Linked DNA regions of Homo sapiens: region 1 is linked to region 2. The links are contacts of gene promoters, found by promoter capture Hi-C in blood cells and fetal thymus (Javierre and others, 2016). All regions are on one chromosome and are shown on one strand. The core of a region is centred on a gene start or on the middle of the fragment in contact, and the rest is flanking DNA. Distances in the headings are between cores, read along the strand shown. Region 1 overlaps SOS2 (SOS Ras/Rho guanine nucleotide exchange factor 2). Region 2 holds the start of KLHDC1 (kelch domain containing 1).

Region 1 (5,726 bases), core at 580-3,079, 440 kb before region 2:
TAGCAGCCTTTATTTTTGTACAAGCCAGTAGCTTTTATTTTCTTTTTATTTTAAATTCTTTCTCTTTAAAAAATGCTTAATGGAGAGTTAATGATTGTTTATCAGAGACTTAACATTTTAGTAGTAGAGTTGCTGAATAGTATAGGATGTCTTTCAACTTTACTAGATCAGTTGTTTTCCCAAATAATTGATTAAATAACAAAATTTAAAATAACTTTTCTTTAAATTCTTTTTTTTTTTTTACTAGGAATATATTTAACAAATATTCTGAAGACCGAAGAAGGGAATAATGATTTTTTAAAAAAGAAAGGGAAAGATTTAATCAATTTCAGTAAGAGGAGGAAAGTAGCTGAAATTACTGGAGAAATTCAGCAGTATCAGAATCAGCCTTACTGTTTACGGATAGAACCAGATATGAGGGTAAATATTTTCTTTGCATATCTTTAGAAGAGAACGTGTTAATGGGTACCAAAAAAAAAAAATAGAATGAATAAGACATACTATTGGATCGCACAACAGGGTGACTACAGTCCATAATAATTTAATTGCAGATTTAAAAGTAACTGTAAGAGGCCAGGCACTGTGGCTCACGCCTGTAATCCCAGCACTTTGGGAGGCCAAGGCGGGCGGATCGCTTGAGATCAGGAGTTGGAGACCAGCCTGGGCAGCATGGCGAAACCCCGTCTCTACTAAAAATATAAAAAAAAATTAGCTGGGCATGGTGCTGGGTGCCTGCAGTCCCAGCTACTCAGGAGTCTGAGGTGGGAGAATCACTTGAGCCTAGGAGGGGTAGGTTGCAGTGAGCCGAGATAGCGCCACTGCACTCCAGCCTGGGTGACACAGTAAGACTTCTGTCTCAAAATAATAATAGTAGTAATAACTATAAGTATCGGCTGGGCATGGTGGCTCACGCCTGTAATCACAGCACTTTGGGAGGCTGAGGCGGGAGGACCACTTGAGGTCAAGAATTTGAGACCAGCCTGACCAACATGGTGAAACCCTGTCTCTACTAAAAATACAAAAAATTAGCCGGGCATGGTGGCGGGTGCCTGTAATCCCAGCTACTTGGGAGACTGAAGCAGGAGAATCATTTGAACCCAGGAGGTGGAGGCTGCAGTGAGCCGAGATCATGCCACTGCCTTCCAGCCTGGGTGACAGAGGGAGACTCCGTCTCAAAAAATAAAATAAAAAATATTAACTATAAGAGTATAATTGGATTATTCATAATACAAAGGATAAATGCTTGAGGGAATGGATACCCCACTCTCCATGATGGGATTATTCTACATTACATGCCTGTATCAAAACATCTCTTATACCCTACAAATATATACACCTATTATGTACCCATGAAAATTAAAAATTTTAAAAATTAAAAAAAAATTTTAGATCTTGTGTGACCTGTAAGAAATATCATAATTATTTGTCTTGCTATGAAAATAATAGAAAAAAATTAATCAGTAGATAGCATGTTAAACATTAGACATTCTACACTATCTGCAGTTGTTAATATTGTTACTAAGTACTTTCTTTTGAAAGTATTGCTTCTTTGTGTAGTTGGTTCAAGCTACACCATAAAAAGTGAATGACAAAGTAGAATGATGTCCATGCAGTAAAAAGAAAATTCATTTCTAGATTTGATAGCCATTTTAGATAATGTTACATGTAGCAAAATAACGTTATATAATTCATAAGAACAGTGTGTTTAAATAGGAAAAGGGTCAGCAAAGTGGTATATGTATGCCTGGCAGAAGATGATTTTTCTAACATCCTGTCGATTGATGTTCTATTTTGAGCAATAGTGTGTAATATTGATACTATAGTACTATAAAATATGAAACAACCTTCTAAATTAAACTATGATATTATGTTTATGCTAAATGAATGTTATTATATTATACTTGAACTTGGGAACATATTATAACTATCAACCAGAATAAGTTTACGTGTCATATTAAAAACTGCGCTAAACTTTTTAGACATAATCTGCATGCAAATTGGGCATATTGAGTGAAAATATCCACCATTACTTCCACCCTCCTAAATTATGAGATAGAAACTTCTTTGTTCCCGGTTCAAAACAAAGTACCCTAAAGTCCTAAGAAAAAGACCACCTAAAGCATACCATTTATAAAAATGATAGGTCGGGCACAGTGGCTAATGCCTGTAAATCCAGCACTTTGAGAGGCTGAGGTGGGTGGATCACCTGAGGTCAGGAGTTCAAGACCAGCCTGGCCAACGTGGTGAAACTCTGTCTCCACTAAAAATACAAAAATTCGCTGGGTGTGGTGGCACGTGCTTGTAATCCCAGCTACTCAGGAGGCTGAGGTGGGAGGATCGCTTGGACCCAGAAGGCAAATGTTGCAGAGAACTGAGATAGAGCCACTGCACTCTAGCCTAGGTGACAGAGCGAGACTGCATCTCAAAAAAAAAAAAAAAAGATACTTGCTCTTAAAAAAAATAAAGGTGGTAACCTACTGATGGTGACCTATTTCATCCCCTCTCACCATTGAACCCGCCCTCTGTGATGTGGGGCTTCGGAGAGCTAAGGAAATATGGTCCCCACAGGAATAATGTTACACTTTAATTCGGTATGCTTGAAATAGTACTTTTAGTATTTATATCTCAGAACCATACCTGCTAATTGGTGTTTGTGGTGTGGTCTAGGGTTCCTACCACCATTTAAAGCATTTTTGGGAGGAAGTGTCTTCTATATGATTGAGTCAAACAAAATAAATTTAAAATGTAGACAAAGTAGCTATTCACTTTTCAAATCATACTTAAATAAATAGTATTTAAAATAGAGCAAAGGATGAGGAAATCAAGAATACTGCTGTTATAGCTTTCTGAAAGCCTTTAATTACTAGTGGCTAATATTTAATTTAGCTAACCTGAACATAAGAACACATTGTTTCAGTATTGTTAAAAGAGTAATACAATTTTCTTGAAATTGGCAGAATGCCTTAAAAATGGGAAGAATTTTATACTAGAAATTTTAAAGCTCATTTTGCCTACTGCTAAAGCTAAAACCTAGTACCATTTTTATATATGCTTCTAAACCACTTCAAAATTAAATAAAGCTAAATCCAGTAATTTGCTGCTAAGGAATTTTTCTAAGGAAATCATAAAAAATGTACAGAAAAATTTATATATAGGAGTTAATAAAAATAATTATTATAATAGCAAAAAATTAGAAAGTACCTATATGGATAACTAGCTATATGGAGATTATTACATTCTGAAATATCCATCTGATGAAATACTATAGAGTTAAAATTTGTATTTTGTAAAATAAGCAAACTGGCTGGGTGAGGTGGCTCATACCTGTAATCCCAGCACTTTGGAAGGCTGAGTGAGACTCCATCTCAAAAAAAAAAAAAAAAAAAAAAGCAAACCACATTGAAAAAAGTTAATTGAATATAAACTTCAGAAAGATTAAAATTGATATCCCAGTTTTTCAGGAAAATATATATATAAATTATTAATAATTATATATAAATACATATATACATGCATATATTTACATGCACAGTAAAATCATTGGAAGATAGTCTAATATTTAAATGTAAACAATGATATTTCTGGTTTGTAAGATTACTGTTTCTTTTTCTTTTTTTCTCTTTTTTTGGCAGTGCTAAATCACCTGAATTTTCTACGTTAAAACTTAAATTTAAGCTTAAAATATTTTTTGATAAAGACAAAAATTTTAAACATTTTATTTATTAGGCTTTTTTTAAGAGGAGAGGTCTCACCATATTGCCCTGGCTGGTGTCAAATTCCTGGGCTTAAGCAGTCCCCCGGCCTCAGCCTCCCAAACTGCTAGGATTACAGGTGTGAGCCATCATGGCTTGGCTCAGATAAAAACATTTTTTATACTAGAAGTTAGCACAGATAGGTTTAACTTTATAATCATTCTTTCTTTCTTTCTTTCTTTCTTTCTTTTTTTTTTTTTTTTTTTTTGAGACAGTCTCGCTCTTGTTGCCCAGGCTGGAGTGCAATGGTGTGATCTCGGTTCACCTCAACCTCCGCCTGCCAGGTTCAATTGATTCTCCTGTCTCAGCCTCCTGAGTAGCTGGGATTACAGGCATGCGCCACCACGCCCAGCTAATTTTGTATTTTTAGTAGAGATGGGGTTTCTTCATGTTGGTCAGGCTGGTCTCAAACTCCCGACCTCAGGTGATCCACCCACCTCAGCCTCCCAAAGTGGTGGGATTACAGGCGTGAGCCACCGTGCTCGGCCTATAATCATTCTTGACATTACTTTTAAAGTAATTTAAATGACTACTTTTAAAGTAAAAGGAATTTCCAGAGTAATTATAAATGATCAAGAATGATCTATAAATTGGATTAACAGACCTTAATCTAATTTATCTCCACTTTTTTTCTGATTATCAAAACTTCATTGTGGATTATAACCATAGCTTTGTTCTAAACACTTTTGGTAGCTTACTAGTGATGATCATTTGTTACAATGAGTAGGAGTAAAGTTTCCTAAGGAATAAGTAGTGCTACTGCTGAGCCATTAAAATGATAATAAATGAAAACTCATATTCTTAATAGAACTTTAAGACTAGAATATAACTTCCACAGAAATTATATAATCTTATTCAGAAGTAAAGAGATTGGAATAAGCAACACTTGTGAACTTTTCACATATTGTGGGCTCTTAATGTGTTATTTTTTAGCATTAAATAAGTAATTTTCAGCAAAAAATTTTAATGAGATCTTATTTTAATAAGATCTAAAATATATACTTACTATATATGCACTTGTGTTATTTGTTTAATTCCAGAGATTCTTTGAAAACCTTAACCCCATGGGAAGTGCATCTGAAAAAGAGTTTACAGATTATTTGTTCAACAAGTCACTAGAAATTGAACCTCGAAACTGCAAACAGCCACCTCGATTTGTAAGTCTTTTATAATTTCGGGAACAAGTGTTCTGTTTTTTAAAATATTATTTTCAATGTTTAACAACCTGTTATCTTAAAAATGTAATTGAATGGCTGTTCCTAGGTGTTTTGTTTGCAGTAATATACTATTTCTAAAACTGGGGGGGGAAATGTCAGCCTTTTGATAAAATCTGGTTTATGCCTTATCTTGGTACTACTTATTTATGTGTCTACTTTTGATCCCTCCTAGAATAATACAAAAAGGTGTGAGAAAGTGAGAACTTAATAGGTAGCTGAATGGAACAGAAAAAAAAAGAAAAGACCTGGGAAGGAGTAAGCAAATGTATTTTGGTTCTTGTGACTTGATATGACTTCTGCCATTAGGGCTCCATGGTCCATAGTTGCCTCTGGAACCCATCTCTGTCACTAGAATTTGATGCTACAATTTCCAGTTACTGCAGGAGTTTGCAGTGGCAACAGAAGTAGTAGAAGATGAACTCTAAGTAGCTAAAAGTGAAGCAAGATATAGAAGGAAGTAAAAACACAAACCAACTTTAGGTGAAGCAGGAAGTCAGGTAGTTTCATGCTATCTCATCTTCACAATTGTGTGATATATGAGGGGACTTCAAAAAGTTCATAGAGACCGGGCATGGTGGCTCACACCTGTAATCCCAGCACATTGGGAGACCAAGGCAGGCAGATTGCTTCAGTTCAAGAGTTTGAGACCAGCTTGGGCAACATGGCAAAACCCTGTCTCTACCAAAAATACAAAAAAATTAGCCAGGCATGGTGGTGCACGCCTGGGGGCGGAGGTTGCAGTGAGCCAAGATCACTC
Region 2 (5,929 bases), core at 152-2,651:
TACAATGTAAACATGACTTTTATATGCACTGAGATACCAAAAAAATTCGTATGACCTCGCTTTATTGCAGTCATACGAAGTATTCTGCAATACTTCGAGGTATGCCTGTATGTTGGTCATTTCAATATGATTCAGTCACGTTACAGGTCTGTCACATAATGGTAGGGAGACAGAAGATGTAGGTTCTACTATCAGTAGAACTTCCAGATGGCTTAAGAAAAAAAATCTGTAAACTAAGAGGGTTGGCATATAGTATTCCTGTTTTCCAGCTTTACCATTCTTGCTTCTATAATTCTGTGATTATGGACACACAACACACACATACGCTCAAACCTCCATTGTAGTAAGAATTTTAAAGCATAATATTTCTTAGCATATTATTGCTAACATGCGTCTATTTTGAGACTAGAAAAAATAGTCATTAGTAAAGAAACGCCACTAAAAATAGCTTAGAAATATTTAAAATGCAAGCCAGGCACAGTGGCTAATGCCTGTAATCCCAGCATTTTGGGAAGCCAAGGCGGGCGGATCACCTGAGGTCGCGAGTTCAAGACCAGCCTGACCAACATGGGAAACCCTGTCTCTATTAAAAATACAAAATTAGCCAGGCATGATGGCACATGCCGGTAAGCCCAGCTACTAGGGAGGCTGAGGCAGGAGAATCGCTTGAACCCGGGGCGGGGGGCGGAGGTTGCGGTGAGCTGAGATCGTTCCATTGCACTCCAGCCCTGGGCAACAAGAGCGAAACTCCATCTCAAAAAAAAAAAAAAAAGAAAAAGAAAAGAAAATAAATATTTAAATGCTTCAGTGATTTCGATATTTTATTTCGAATCGCGCCGTGGGAATAAGGAAATATATACAAAATGATACAGCACGGCGTCCTCGGGTCCTTCTAGGTCTGCGCCAGTATTTAAGGATAATAATTAATCGCGCTGTAACTGCCTTTGCATTGGGCAAACCGTGGTTACTGAATTGCTGGCAAAGAGGGGCGGAGAGTGGTAAGAGGCCCGGAGCCGGGTCTGAGGCTTTAATAGAAGAAGCAACGGCGGGACGACGTCAAGCCCTGGCGCGGCTGTGGGGGCGGCGGCCAGCGGAGGGGCTGGGGGGCTGCAGGCGCCGGGCGCGCCAGGCCTGGGCCGCAGCCTCGGGAGCGGGTGTGGCGGGCGCTGCGTCCGCTCAGGCCGAGGGTCTCCCGGCGCGAGTCTACCCCGTCCCGCCTCTTCCCCTTACCACGTAGCCCCCCCACACGTAGAGGAAGTTTCCGTCCACCACGGCGCAGTGGCCGCTGCGTTCCTCCGCCACACAGAACAGCTGAGAGTCCGCCATTCGCGCCGTCGCTGGCCCGCCGCTTGCCGCGCCACAACCCCTGCCCGCCCGGCGGCCTCGCCTCCAGCCCCGACTGCTCCACGCACGAACGGAACGCGGCGAGGGTCGAGATTGGTGGGAAGGCGGAGCCAGTGCGTCTGCAACGTCCCGCGGCTCTCGCTCGGGAAGTCGAGCCAGGGGCGGCGCGGCTGTGGAGGGACGTTCTGGCTCCTCGCAGTGGGCAAGGGGCCTGGGCTTTCCACGCGCAGATTCCTTCTCTCTTGGAATTGTGTTTTGGCAGTACAGCCTCATTTAGTAGTCAGTCTGTAGTCAGATTCCTTGATTATCTCAAAATGTCTTTTCTATAGTTGGTTTGTTCAGCACCGTAATTCGTTGTTAACGCCTCTTAAGACTTTACGTCTGTTTTACTCTAGAATAGCTTCTCTCCCTTCTCTCTTGTGCCATTTGTTTGTTATATGGATTAGTTTTCTTATTTTCCTACAGCCGTACCACCTTCTGGGTTTGGTTCCTCAGTGTCTTTTCTCATTAACTTGTGCATCCTTTCCCCATACTTCTTTTAGGCTGGAAGCTGTATCTAAAAGCTTTATTAGATTCTAGTTCAGATTTTTTTTTGGAAAATACTTCATATTGCATCACATTAGAAGGCACTTAAGTCTGGTGCACTTTAATGATACTTTCTATTGTTTATTTTTGACTATACAAATAAACAGAGTATCTGCTCCTTTTCTTACACAAAAGGAAGTATATACAGTGTTCCTTAACTTTCTCTTTTCACTTGACGATCCATATCAGGATACAGCAAGCAGTCTCCTCAGTCCTTTTCATAGCTTCATAGCACTCCACCGATTGGATGTGTCATAGCTTATTCAAACAGATTCTTATTGATGGACATATCGGTTATTTCCAGGTTTTTTTGGCTATCATAAATAATGCTGCGATGAAACGTTATGCATATGTTATTTTGTATTTGTACAAGCCTATCTTTGGAGTAGAGTTCTAGATGTGGAATTGCTGGGTCAGAGGATAAATGCATATTTAACTTTACAAATGTAACTGGATTGCAGTGGCTCACGCCTCTCATCTAAGCACTTTGGGAGGATGAGGTAGGCGGATCACTTGAGCTCAGGAGTTTGAGACCAGCCTGGCCAACCTGGGCAATCCCGTCTCTACTAAAAATACAAAAATTAGCCGGGCGTGGTGGCGCATGCCTGTAATCCCAGCTACAAAGGCAAGAGAATCGCTTTAACCCGGGAGGTGGAGGTTGCAGTGAACCGAGATCGCGCCACTGCACTCCGGTCTGGGCGACAGAGCAAGGTTCCTTAGAAAGAAAGAGAGAAAGAGAGAGAGAGGGAAAGGGAGAGAGAAAGAAAGAAAAAGGAGGAAGGGAGGGAAGGAAGAAGGGAGGGAGGGAGGAAGGGAGGAAGGAAGGAAGAAATTCAAGATAGACAAAAGTGATCTATGATAATAGAAAGCAGAAAAGTGGTCATTTGGGAGTAGGGAGGGGGAGGGGACTGATGGAAAGGAGTACAGGAAGTGTTCTGGAGTGATTAAAATGTTCTGTATCTTGATTGAGGTGGTGGTTACATGGGTGTATACATTTATCAAAATGCATTGAACTGCATACAGATATGTGCATTTTACTTAGTGTAAACTATATGTCAATCATAATTCTCACTCCATCACTTTATTGTTACTAGTAATATTGGTATTGTATTTTTGAAATGGAGCATTTGTCCTCCTGGACTGTAGAGTCTGGTGGAGTCTATAGACCAGCAAACAGACAATTACCATACCGTGCAGTAAGTGTGAAAATAGCAAAAGTCCAGGGCACCTTGGGTGTACAGAGGCCCTTTAACTCAGATTGAGGGAAGACAGGGAAGGTTCCTGAGAGAAAGTAAAGTCTAAGTTAAGAACTGAATGATGAACGGAAGTTGTTCAAGGAACTTTCATTCGTGAGAGGGAAGAGTCAAGGATATGCCTAGTTTACCAGCTTGGTCACTGGGTGGGAGGTGGGTGGAGCCCTTCGCTAGGTTATTGAACATGGGAGGAGGAACAGGTTTGGGGGAGGGCAGGGCTAATGGTGAGTTCATTTGGAGGCATATTGAGTTGGATTTGAAGTCTAAGAGAGCTAAGGGCTAGAGATAGGGATTTTGGAGTCATCAGCATATAATTGTTCATTTAAGTATTGGGACTTTATGAGCTGGCCAGGTGAAGGAGCCATAGAAGAAGTTGAAAATTTATTAGAGAAAGAGAATTATGATTGGGAACATTTATGGGAAAAGGGGAATTGTGAGGTCAGATTGTGAGAGAAAGCTGGGCAACTGGAATTGATTATTTTCTCTCCAATTTCTTAATATAAAAAGTAGCAAACCAAAAAAAGTTGAAAAAATAGTTCAAAGAGTACCTGTGTATCTTCCACTCCAGGTTAATAATTATTAATACTACCATACTAGCTTTATGTTTGTTGGTATGTGTGTGTCTGTCTTTTTCATTTTGTTGAATTATTTGAGAGTGGGAGTGCCTTATGGAGAAAATACATGTGATAAATAAGCTTCCTTCAGCTATGAGTTATAGGGCTCTTGGCCCTGAGTTCAGTGTTAACGAATCACAATGTAAAGATGTCTTTACATAAAAACACACATAAAACAAGGTTATAGGCCGGGCGCGGTGGCTCACGCCTGTAATCCCAGCACTTTGGGAGGCCGAGACGGGGGGATCACGAGGTCAGGAGATCGAGACCATCCTGGCTAACACGGTGAAACCCCGTCTCTACTAAAAATACAAAAATTAGCCGGGCATGGTGGCGCGCGCCTGTAGTCCCAGCTACACGGGAGGCTGAGGCAGGAGAATGGCGTGAACCCGGGAGGCGGAGCTTGCAGTGAGTCGAGATCGCGCCACTGCACTCCAGCCTGGGCGACAGAGCGAAACTCCGTCTCAAAAAAAAAAAAAAAAAAAAAACAAAACAAGGTTATATGTTGATCAGTTGATGAAAACATTGTCACCAGAGGCTCACAGGAACCTAATTCTGTACTTCCCCTAGTAGGAATGGTTTAGTATTCAATAATTATTTGTTGGTGGCTACTTATAAAATCTAACTATCACAGGTACAGTAATGAGAATTAACTATATGTCTTTCTATTCGTATTTCCTATCCTTTCTTACATAAAAATTAAAAATTTCTTTGTACTTTTTGTCTTTGAAAAATATTTCACTAAATAAAGAGAACTGTGTTCAAAAATCACTTGTGATGTTATGTTACCAATTTAATATACAATTAGGTGTATTAGTTTTAGTATGCATTCAATTTTAAGCTCACCTTTTTATTTTCTATTTTTTGAATATGTAAAACATGCACATGGATTAAAAGTCTCACTGTAAAGAAAGTTTTCACTTTCATCCCTATCCCCTCACCCCTTTGTAGTTAACCATTTTTGTGGTCTCTGATTTAACCTTCCAGAGTTGTTTTGTTGTTGTTGTTGCTGTTGTTTTGAGACAGAGTCTCACTCTTGTTGCCTAGGCTGGAGTGTAATGGCCCCATCTCGGCTCACCGCAACCTCTGTCTCCCGGGTTCAGACAATTCTCCTGCCTCAGCCTCCCGAGTAGCTGGGATTACAGGCATGCGCCACCATGCCTGGCTAATTTTTTTGTATTTTTGTAGAGACGGGGTTTCTCCATGTTGGTCAGGCTGGTCTCGAACTCCTGACCTCAGATGATCCGCCCACCTCGGCCTCCCAAAGTGCTGGGATTACAGGCGTGAACCACTGCGCCCGGCTTTTTTTGTTTTTGAGACAGAGCCTTGCTTTGTTGCCCAGGCTGGAGTGGTGGCACGATCTCGGCTCACTGCACCCTCCGCCTCCGAGGCTCAAGAGATTCTCCTGCCTCAACCTCCCCAGGAGCTGGGATTACAGGCGCGCGCCACCACGCCTGGCTAATTTTTTTTTTTTTTTTTTTTTTTTGGTAGAGACGGGGTTTCACCATGTTGGCCCGGCTGTTCTCGAACTCTTGGCCTCAAGTGATCTGCCAGCATCGGCCTCCCAAAGTTCTGGGATTACAGATGTGAGCCACCGCGCCCGGGCCCAGAGGTTTTTAAAATGCAAAAACAAATACATATACTTTTGTTTCCCTTCCTTCATTAAACTTCGCTTTTTTTTAAAAAAGAAAAAAACCCGTATACGTTGGAGGTCACTTTATATTGGTACTGTGAAATCATCCTCCTGTTTTATAAGCCGCGTGTTTACTTATAAGCACTCCACGGGTTAGTCAACTCATTGGAGCAAGCGTTTTGAAGTGTGGCAGATTGACAGTCCACCTGAAATCAGAATAACTGAGTTCAAATCCTGACTACACCATTTAACTCGTCGTTTCATCTTGAGCAAGTCCTTTACCATTTTTGTGTCTCAGTTTTCTCATCTGTAAAATGAGGCTGTTGTGGAAAAGACAGTAGACAGCTCACTGGGCTGTCATGAGCAACACATGAATTCACACATTTAAAGTGCTTATGACAGTGCATGGCGCATACGAAGCCCTCAAGTTAAATAAAAATCGGGGTAGGTGGGAGCGATGGAGATTTATAACAGCTTCCGGTAAATGTCGAGGCACAGTA

What was found. The method cuts DNA at HindIII sites, captures the fragments that hold promoters and counts their contacts. A CHiCAGO score of 5 or more calls a contact.
Region 1: a fragment that was not itself captured here is called in contact with the fragment with the promoter of KLHDC1 in region 2 in 2 of 17 cell types (activated CD4 T cells and fetal thymus); the score reaches 6.0 in activated CD4 T cells.

The regions. Positions count from the first base shown.
Region 1 is chr14:50,133,306-50,139,031 of GRCh38, reverse strand. It overlaps SOS2 (SOS Ras/Rho guanine nucleotide exchange factor 2), which reads left to right. Exons shown (of 23, transcript NM_006939.4): 18 at 248-420; 19 at 4,793-4,909. Among named protein-coding and RNA genes, the nearest start is that of VCPKMT, 20 kb to the right of the region's middle. RefSeq lists an enhancer at 1-98. The HindIII fragment of the contact is 3,697 bases long and covers 1-3,677 here.
Region 2 is chr14:49,688,592-49,694,520 of GRCh38, reverse strand. It overlaps KLHDC1 (kelch domain containing 1), which reads right to left and starts at 1,401. Exons shown (of 13, transcript NM_172193.3): 1 at 1,231-1,401. The coding sequence starts at 1,326. RefSeq lists silencers at 1,027-1,196, 1,207-1,256 and an enhancer at 5,549-5,929. The HindIII fragment of the contact is 4,227 bases long and covers 1-1,909 here.